Linked DNA regions of Homo sapiens: region 2 is linked to region 1. The links are contacts of gene promoters, found by promoter capture Hi-C in human tissues and cell types (Jung and others, 2019). All regions are on one chromosome and are shown on one strand. Each heading gives the region's core, a stretch centred on a gene start or on the middle of the fragment in contact. The rest is flanking DNA. Distances are from core to core; before and after follow the strand shown. Region 1 holds the start of FUBP3 (far upstream element binding protein 3). Region 2 overlaps ABL1 (ABL proto-oncogene 1, non-receptor tyrosine kinase).

What was found. The method cuts DNA at HindIII sites, captures the fragments that hold promoters and counts their contacts. A contact is called where the count stands out against the background at its distance.
Region 2: a fragment that was not itself captured here is called in contact with the fragment with the promoter of FUBP3 in region 1 in 2 of the 25 tissues and cell types used here (bladder and hippocampus).

The regions. Positions count from the first base shown.
Region 1 is chr9:130,577,670-130,581,366 of GRCh38, forward strand. It overlaps FUBP3 (far upstream element binding protein 3), which reads left to right and starts at 1,908. Exons shown (of 19, transcript NM_003934.2): 1 at 1,908-2,095. The coding sequence starts at 2,012. It overlaps LOC100272217 (a long non-coding RNA gene), which reads right to left and starts at 1,825. Exons shown (of 1, transcript NR_027440.1): 1 at 1-1,825. It overlaps LOC124902286 (a long non-coding RNA gene), which reads left to right and starts at 2,171. Exons shown (of 2, transcript XR_007061818.1): 1 at 2,171-2,579; 2 at 2,990-3,697. RefSeq lists a silencer at 1,856-2,225. The HindIII fragment of the contact is 10,079 bases long and covers 1-3,359 here.
Region 2 is chr9:130,847,079-130,850,775 of GRCh38, forward strand. All of the region lies in intron 1 of ABL1 (ABL proto-oncogene 1, non-receptor tyrosine kinase), which reads left to right. Among named protein-coding and RNA genes, the nearest start is that of ABL1, 14 kb to the left of the region's middle. RefSeq lists an enhancer at 370-992 and a silencer at 584-878. The HindIII fragment of the contact is 3,204 bases long and covers 533-3,697 here.

The sequences.
Region 1 (3,697 bases), core at 658-3,157:
CTCATAGGGAAAGCCAGCTGGAATATGCATGAATCAACATTCTAACCTCAGAGATATATTTCTAAAATTCAAAACAGAAGTTATCACTGATACTTGGTTCAGCTGAACGACTGTGTTCATGAAAGTTGATACCATTGCCATTCCTTGATTTTTACAAGCATAGCAAACTTAAAACGCTCAACACACCCAGAATGGGCAATAAATGGATGTGTTGGCATGGTCCTCCTCGTGCTGGCACTTCAACAACACAGCAAGCTATGTACTTTTGAACAGGGGTTGGAACATTTTTTCTGAAAGCAATCTTCAATCTTGCAATTTTGCCAAATTCTTTTATTTTGCCATAATCTATGAATTATTCTACTTGGCATTATTGAATGCAAAATAAGTTTACTAAGCACCTACTATGTGCCACACCCTAGGGATACAGGGAAAAATAAGTCTCTGCTCTAAAGTAACTCACAGTCTAGGAAAGAAGTCATTAACAAATAAATAACTATACTTTGGTTATTGGTCAAGTATTCCTCATACTTCTTTAGAATGCCCAAAGCTCTCTTGGCATAATGACACAGTGAGGGGTGAGGGTGGGGTCATCAAGGAAAGTTATATGGGACTTTTTTCCCCAAGAAAGGGTCTTGCTCTGTCACCCACGCTGTACTGCAGTGGCGTGATCATAGCTCACTGCAGCCTTGACCTCCAGGGCTCAGGTGATCCTCCCACTCCAGCCTCCCAAGTAGCTGGGACTACAGGTGTTTGCCACCACGCCCAGCTAATTATATTTTTTGTAGAGACGGGGTCTCACTATGCTGCCTAGGCTGGTCTTGAATTTCTGGGCTCAAGAGTTCTGCCTGCCTTGGCCTCCCAAACTGCTAAGATTACAGGCGTGAGCTACCGCACCCGGCCCGTATTGGATTTTATTTATTTCCTTTTCTTGGTGCTCATCCTCCTTCACAACTTCAAGATGGGCATAAGATGTTTGACAACATGGTTCTTCATTAAGTCCAACTCCTTATCATAATAGGGCTTGGGAAATATTAAACACGAGGGCAATCGTGCTAACACAAAAATGGGCGCCCCCTAAACCTTGTTACTTGTTTGCTCACTTATAAGAAGAGCCAACTCAAAGGCTCAACTGAATTCTAGCACTAAGATTCCTTCCTTGCTGTAGAAGATCTGTACCTGGTCACTTCCATTAAAGTTACATAGGCGTTCCAAGAAGCCTCCTGCAATACAGTTGTGACTCAGCCGGTATGGGAGTAATGACGGTCCTGTGGTATTTCCTGCACCCCCAGAGTCCCAGAGTTTGTTAAGGACCGTGTAAGAGGACACCACGCTGGCTTTTCAGTGGGCGCGTCTCTCCTGGGGGCATCACCAGACAACCCCAGGCGGAAGTGGCGGTGGCCCATCCTCATGCAAACTGCAGTGTAAGAACTGGGGCCCGGGACTCCTCGCAAATGTGGGACACTGACATTCTGTGATGCTGTCCCAATGCCCTTTCAAAGCGCTCAGCCCCCAAATTCCCAACCAACAGCCATTTCAGGGAGGGGCTACCCAGGACCAGGCTTTTGATGAACCACGACTGTTCGGGGTGCCGTCTTGGGAGAGCCACGTCAGTCCCTCTGAGATTCCAAACGGCCGACAGCGGACACCTCGGGACCACATCCAAGCCTCGGGGACCTGTCAAGACGCCATCGACGGTCCTGGACCAAATCCCGCCCGGGAAGGGAAGGGTCGCGACCGGACCCTGGAGACCCACGGCTGCCTGGCGATCTGAGCCCACCCCGGCGCTGCCGTCCCGCCCCCACTTCCGATCGGTCGAAGGTCACGTGCCCTGACCCCGCCCCGCAGACGCGACTCCTCCAGCTGCGAGCGTCCCGGCTTTCCCTTCCGCCGGAAGTAGGGCGACTTTCCTTTTCCGGCTACGGGTCCCCAAGCGGAGCGGGAGGCCGGACCGGGGAGCCGAGCGGCGGCGTCGGCGGCGTCGGCGGCGGCGGCGACGGCGGCGGGGGCGGTAATGGCGGAGCTGGTGCAGGGGCAGAGCGCTCCTGTGGGGATGAAGGCCGAGGGCTTCGTGGATGCCCTGCACCGGGTCCGGCAGGTACGGGCGCAGCCGGCTGGCAGGAGCACGAGATCCCGAGGCGGGGCCTGGCGGGCGGGGAAGAGGGGTTCGGGCCTGGGGGGCGGGAGGCAGCCTGAACCGACGTCTCAGCCGGGCCGGGCCGTTCCGTGGAGTTCCTACAGCCGGGAGGAGCCGGGGGGATAAGGCGCCACTGCGAGGCCCAGGCCCGGCCTGTCGGGCGGGTCTCCCAGGTGCCTGAAGTCGCTGGGAAAGGGTTTGCTTAGAGCGTCTGGCCCCATCGTGCCCCAGCGGCCAGCCTGGACCCACAGTGTAGCTAGCGCGGGGTTCTGAACCTCGCGAGGGGAGGGGTCCGGGAAGCCCACGGGGAGGATCTGGGTGTAGACATAAAGCAGCTGTCTGACGCCCAGTAGCTTGTTAAAACTTGGGGAACATCGTCTTTAGACTTTCTGTTGAGTAGAAGGAACTCGAGGGCATCTTATATGTGAGGGTGCTCTTTGGAGAGGTGAGAGAGGGAGGTGTTACATGTGTGGGGGTGGTCCCCAAGATGTAGAAATTTCTCATGGCAAGCTTGCCTCTACTGGGGAGAATGATATGGCCTCATTCCGACATTGAAACTTTACTGTCTGACAATGTCGTGCATTTAATCAAAGTTAAATTAACTGGGTTTTAGAAGGCTCCAGGCTTCCCCAGAGAGTGAATATGGGACCTGCCAAAAATACTTACTGGCTTCTGGCATGGTACTTAGAACAGAACGTGTTCTTCATTTGTATCTAAAACTTACTTACAAGTCAGCCCTAACACTTCAGCTTCCTCGGTTAAGTGTCTTATGTCCTCCTCTCTTCTTATGTAATTGTAAGCGCACTGATACTTTAAAAGTTGGGCTATAACTAATTACTGCTTGATTCCTAACAGAAAGCCACAGGAGTCATTGTATTAGAAGAAGGTCTTCACTCGGGCGCTTGAAGATATGGTCTTTACATCTCTTTCCAGTATTCCAGGGGAGGGAACCCTACCTGTTTCCCTGATAACTGACTTTTCATGTTATATATTGATGCTCCTATAGACATTATATTGGATCCCAGAACTTTCCAAACCTGTGGTTCCACCTAAAATTTTATCTGATGAATTGTTACTTTACTGCCTAGCTGCCAACCAGTACAGTAGTGAGTATCCATCTTACTTAGACTTCAGATCCACCCATGGCTGTAATGGATGAACATGCCACCCAGCTCCCCTTCCACCACTCTGCTTGCTGGCGTGTTACAGTGCTCTCCTCTACAGTACAGGGTCCTGAACCTTGTTTCTCACTGGCTACTAATATGTAATGGCTTTCGCTCTGTGCTGATGTGTGACAGTCACCTTGTTGGCCTTCTATGTCCGGGAAGAATTATAGTCACTGCCCTAAAGGGCTCAGATCCTCAGTTTGCAGAAGGCCTGTAGTTGAACATAAAGTGAATTTTGAACCATTGAGAAGACATTCCGCTTCTCTTGAGCCAGTGGTTGAACTCATATTCTTGGACAACCTGCTCCAGAGGGAGACCCTCTGGTAAATGCTGACCTAATGTGGATTGTTGAAGCAGTGGTGTTTACTACTAGCAGTGAAAACTTCATTGGAATTGT
Region 2 (3,697 bases), core at 885-3,384, 270 kb after region 1:
GTGCTCAACTAGCTAATTAGTGATTTTTTCTGAGTTTAGTTGGTGAGTGGAAACCTTTTTGTTAACATTATGACAAAATAACAATATGGTTTTAAGTGGAGTGAGAGGCACTTTTGAAGATCCAGATCTTAGATCCAGATCTTAAATCTGTTTAAAGTATGACTCAGAAAGGAGGCTGCAGAAAATGTTCACTAAAAAAATTTAAGAATAATAGCAGATGCTAAAATTTATTTCCCAAGACAATAGCCAAAAAGATCTGCTGGAAGAACAGAAGAAGGGAACTAGTTGGGGCATCTTTTTTTTTTGAATGAAGCCTTCAGCCTTCTTTAGGGGAATCTTGCTTCCTGACAGAGGGACCGGTGGAAAGTTTGTGTCTTAAGCAAGAAAGATTTAAGTACATTCTGCAACTTTGGCCTTGTAAGCTGTGATCATTTTTAAGGTTGACGAGCATAGTTCACTATGAAATGAAGCAAGTAACTTGGCATTTATACATTGTGAGTCAATTTTGACATCAGCCTGGATTGGGAATTGACTGGAAGGTTTTGGTGTTGGACTGTGGCTACACTTCAGTGTCTCGGTCCAGAGGCATGCATGAGCAATACTTCCCTTTGGGCTTTAGCCATTAATTTGTGGAATAGAGCAAGAACTGGAGAGGAAAGTCGAGAGACTGCCTTGGATCGCCTGACGTCCTGTTGAATCAAAAAGCAGTGGGAGGCCCTTTCCTTCCTAACAAAGGCCTCATCCTCTTGCATAACATTCCCAGCATCTGTCGACATGTTCGGGACCATCCCACTTTAACCCACACTTCAAGTGGATGGCCACCTCTGGGCGGGGATCTGCATTCTGCTTATTCCAGGTGTTTTCCAGGCCACTTCCCCGATTATGTAACTTTGATCAAATCCAGATGCGGCAGAATGTTTGATAGAAGAGGTCAAATGGCATTTGAGAAGAAAAGCATTTCTGTATTCATGACTTTGGTTTAATTTCCTGTGTGGGCCTGGTCTGCCAAAGTTGTATGCTCATGGCCACGAGGTTGACGCACCAGAGGGAGGCACTCAAGTGCCTTTTCAGGACAGCCTGAAGGAAGCCTCCCTCCCCAGCATGCTTTTTCATGTTAAATTATCAATTATGTAAGTTTAGGGCCAGGCGCGGTGGCTCCTGCCTGTAATCCCAGCACTTTGGGAGGCTGAGGTGAGTAGATCACTTGAGACCAGGAGTTCAAGACCAGCCTGGCCAACATGGCAAAACCCCGTCTCTACTGAAAATGAAAAAAAAAAAAAAAAAAAAAACTTAGCCAGGCGCAGTGGCTCACATCTGTAATCCCAGCTACTCAGGAGGCTGAGGCAGGAGAATCACGTGAACCTGGGAGCTGGAGGTTGCAGTGAGCCTAGATCGCACCACTGCACTTCAGCCTGGGCGATGGAGTGAGACTCCAACTCAAAAAAAAAAAAAAAAAAATTTCAATTGGCTTCTATTAAAGCTTTTTTATGTTTGTCATTGTTTTCTAGTAATAACAACAATCCACATTTTTTGTGAGAAATATACCATAATATAGAGAAGTATAAAGAAAATGTAAGGCCAGACACGGTGGCTCACGCCGATAATCCCAGCACTTTGGGAGGCTGAGGCAGGCTTATCACCTGAGGTCAGGAGTTCGAAACCAGCCTGGCCAACATGGTGAAACCCCATCTCTACTAAAAATACAAAAAAAGTAGCCGAGTGTGGTGGCGGGCACCTGTAATCCCAGCTACTCAGGAGGCTGAGGCAGGAGAATTGCTTGAACCCGGAAGGTGAAGGTTGCAGTGAGCAGAGATCACGCCATTGCACTCCAGCCTGAGTGTCAAGAACGAGACTCCGTCTCGAGAAAAAAAAAAAAGAAAAGTAAATTTAAAGCACTTAAAATCCCACCACCCTGAGTTAACTACTGTTCACAGTTTGGTGAAATTCCTCCTCGTCTTCTATTTTTTCATAGTTGGGACCATGCCTATATACTGGAATGTAATATAAACACTTAATATATTATTGCGAGTATATTCTCAAACTTAAATATTTTTTCCAAAAATATTTTGAGTGGCTTTTAAAATATATCCTATTTTATGCATGCAGCATAAACTAACTTATCCTGTGTTGATAGATATTTTGTACTTGCCCTTTTCTGTGCTGTTGTTTAAAATTAGTGTATAGAAATAATTGTGTTGATCACTTAGGATAAATTCCTAGAGGTAAATCAGATATTAAATTCTTTATAGACTTCTGGTTCATATTCCAGTTGCCCTCAATTTATACACCTACTACTAGCATTGTATGAGAGTGCCCGTTTCTCTGAAATCTTACCCACACTGGCTGTCAGCGTCAAAAAGATGTATCTGCAGATTTGGCAAGGAATTTGCATTTCAGTGATTATTATCAAGCGTTCACACACTTTCCATGTTTAATGGTAATTTTTTTTGTTTTTTTTTGAGACGATGTCTCACTCTGTTGCCCAGGCAGAGTGCAGTGCCGCGACCTTGGCTCACTGCAACCTCTGCCTCCCAGGTTCAGGTGATTCTCCTGCCTCAACTCCTTAGCAGCTTGGATTACAGGCATGCGCCACCATGCCCGGCTAATTTGTGTATTTTTAGTAGAGACGGGGTTTCACCATATTGGCCAGGTTAGTCTCAAACTCCTGACCTCAAGTGATTGCCCGCCTTGGCCTCCCGAAGTGGTGGGATTACAGGTGTGAGCCACCGCACCTGGCCTTTAATGATAATGTAAATTTTTTGTGAATTGTTTATTCGTGGCTTTGCCCCATTTTTTCCATAGTGGAGGGATTTTTCTTTTTCTTGTTGGTATGTAAAGTCCTTGTGTGTCAAGAATGCTCTGCCTCACAGTTTTTCTAATATAATGACAGTGGAAGCTCGTAACTGGCTTCCACTTGACTGACTTGCTAAATTGACCGGCACTCTTCACTTCCTTATAAAACATGCCTCCATAGTCCCTGTGCCCCATGGCACATGGGATGGGGTAGCCACACTACCACTGTCTGCTGCTGCATATGTTCCTGTCCACAAGAGCCAGTCATGTTTGTTTCCAAGCCTGGTTCTTTCAGATATAGCTGTTGTTGTAATTACTTGGTTGATATGAAACCAATGAAATGCAAGTGTGAAAAGAGAATTGTTTCTAGGAAAATTAAGATGAATGCTTTAGAAAGACTCAGTAAAGGAAGATAAATTTAACAAATTACTACAGAATTAGGTGTAAGACAACAGTAAATGATTGGAATGAATTACAGAAATCTAGAAAGCTTTGACAGTGGGAATGCGTAGTGAATGGCTCTAAGTTCTCCCTCCATCTGTAGGAAATTGAAGCTGGAAGTGAGATGATATATTCATTATAGGGAGGACTTACAGAAGAAAACATCAAGCTCTAATCACATGTCCACATTTCGTTTTGTTTACTTATTTTTTGAAATGGAGTCTCACTCTGTTGCCCAGGCTGGAGTGCAGTGGCATGATCTCAGCTTACTACAACCTCTGCCTCCTGTGTTCAAGCGATTCTCGTGCCTCAGCATCCTGAGTAGTTGGGGCTACAGGTGTGCACCACCACGCCCAACTAATTTTTATATTTTTAGTAGAGACGGGGTTTCGCTATGTTGGCCAGCATGGTCTTAAACTCCTGACCTCAGGTGATCTGCCTGCCTCGGCCTCCCAAAGTGCTG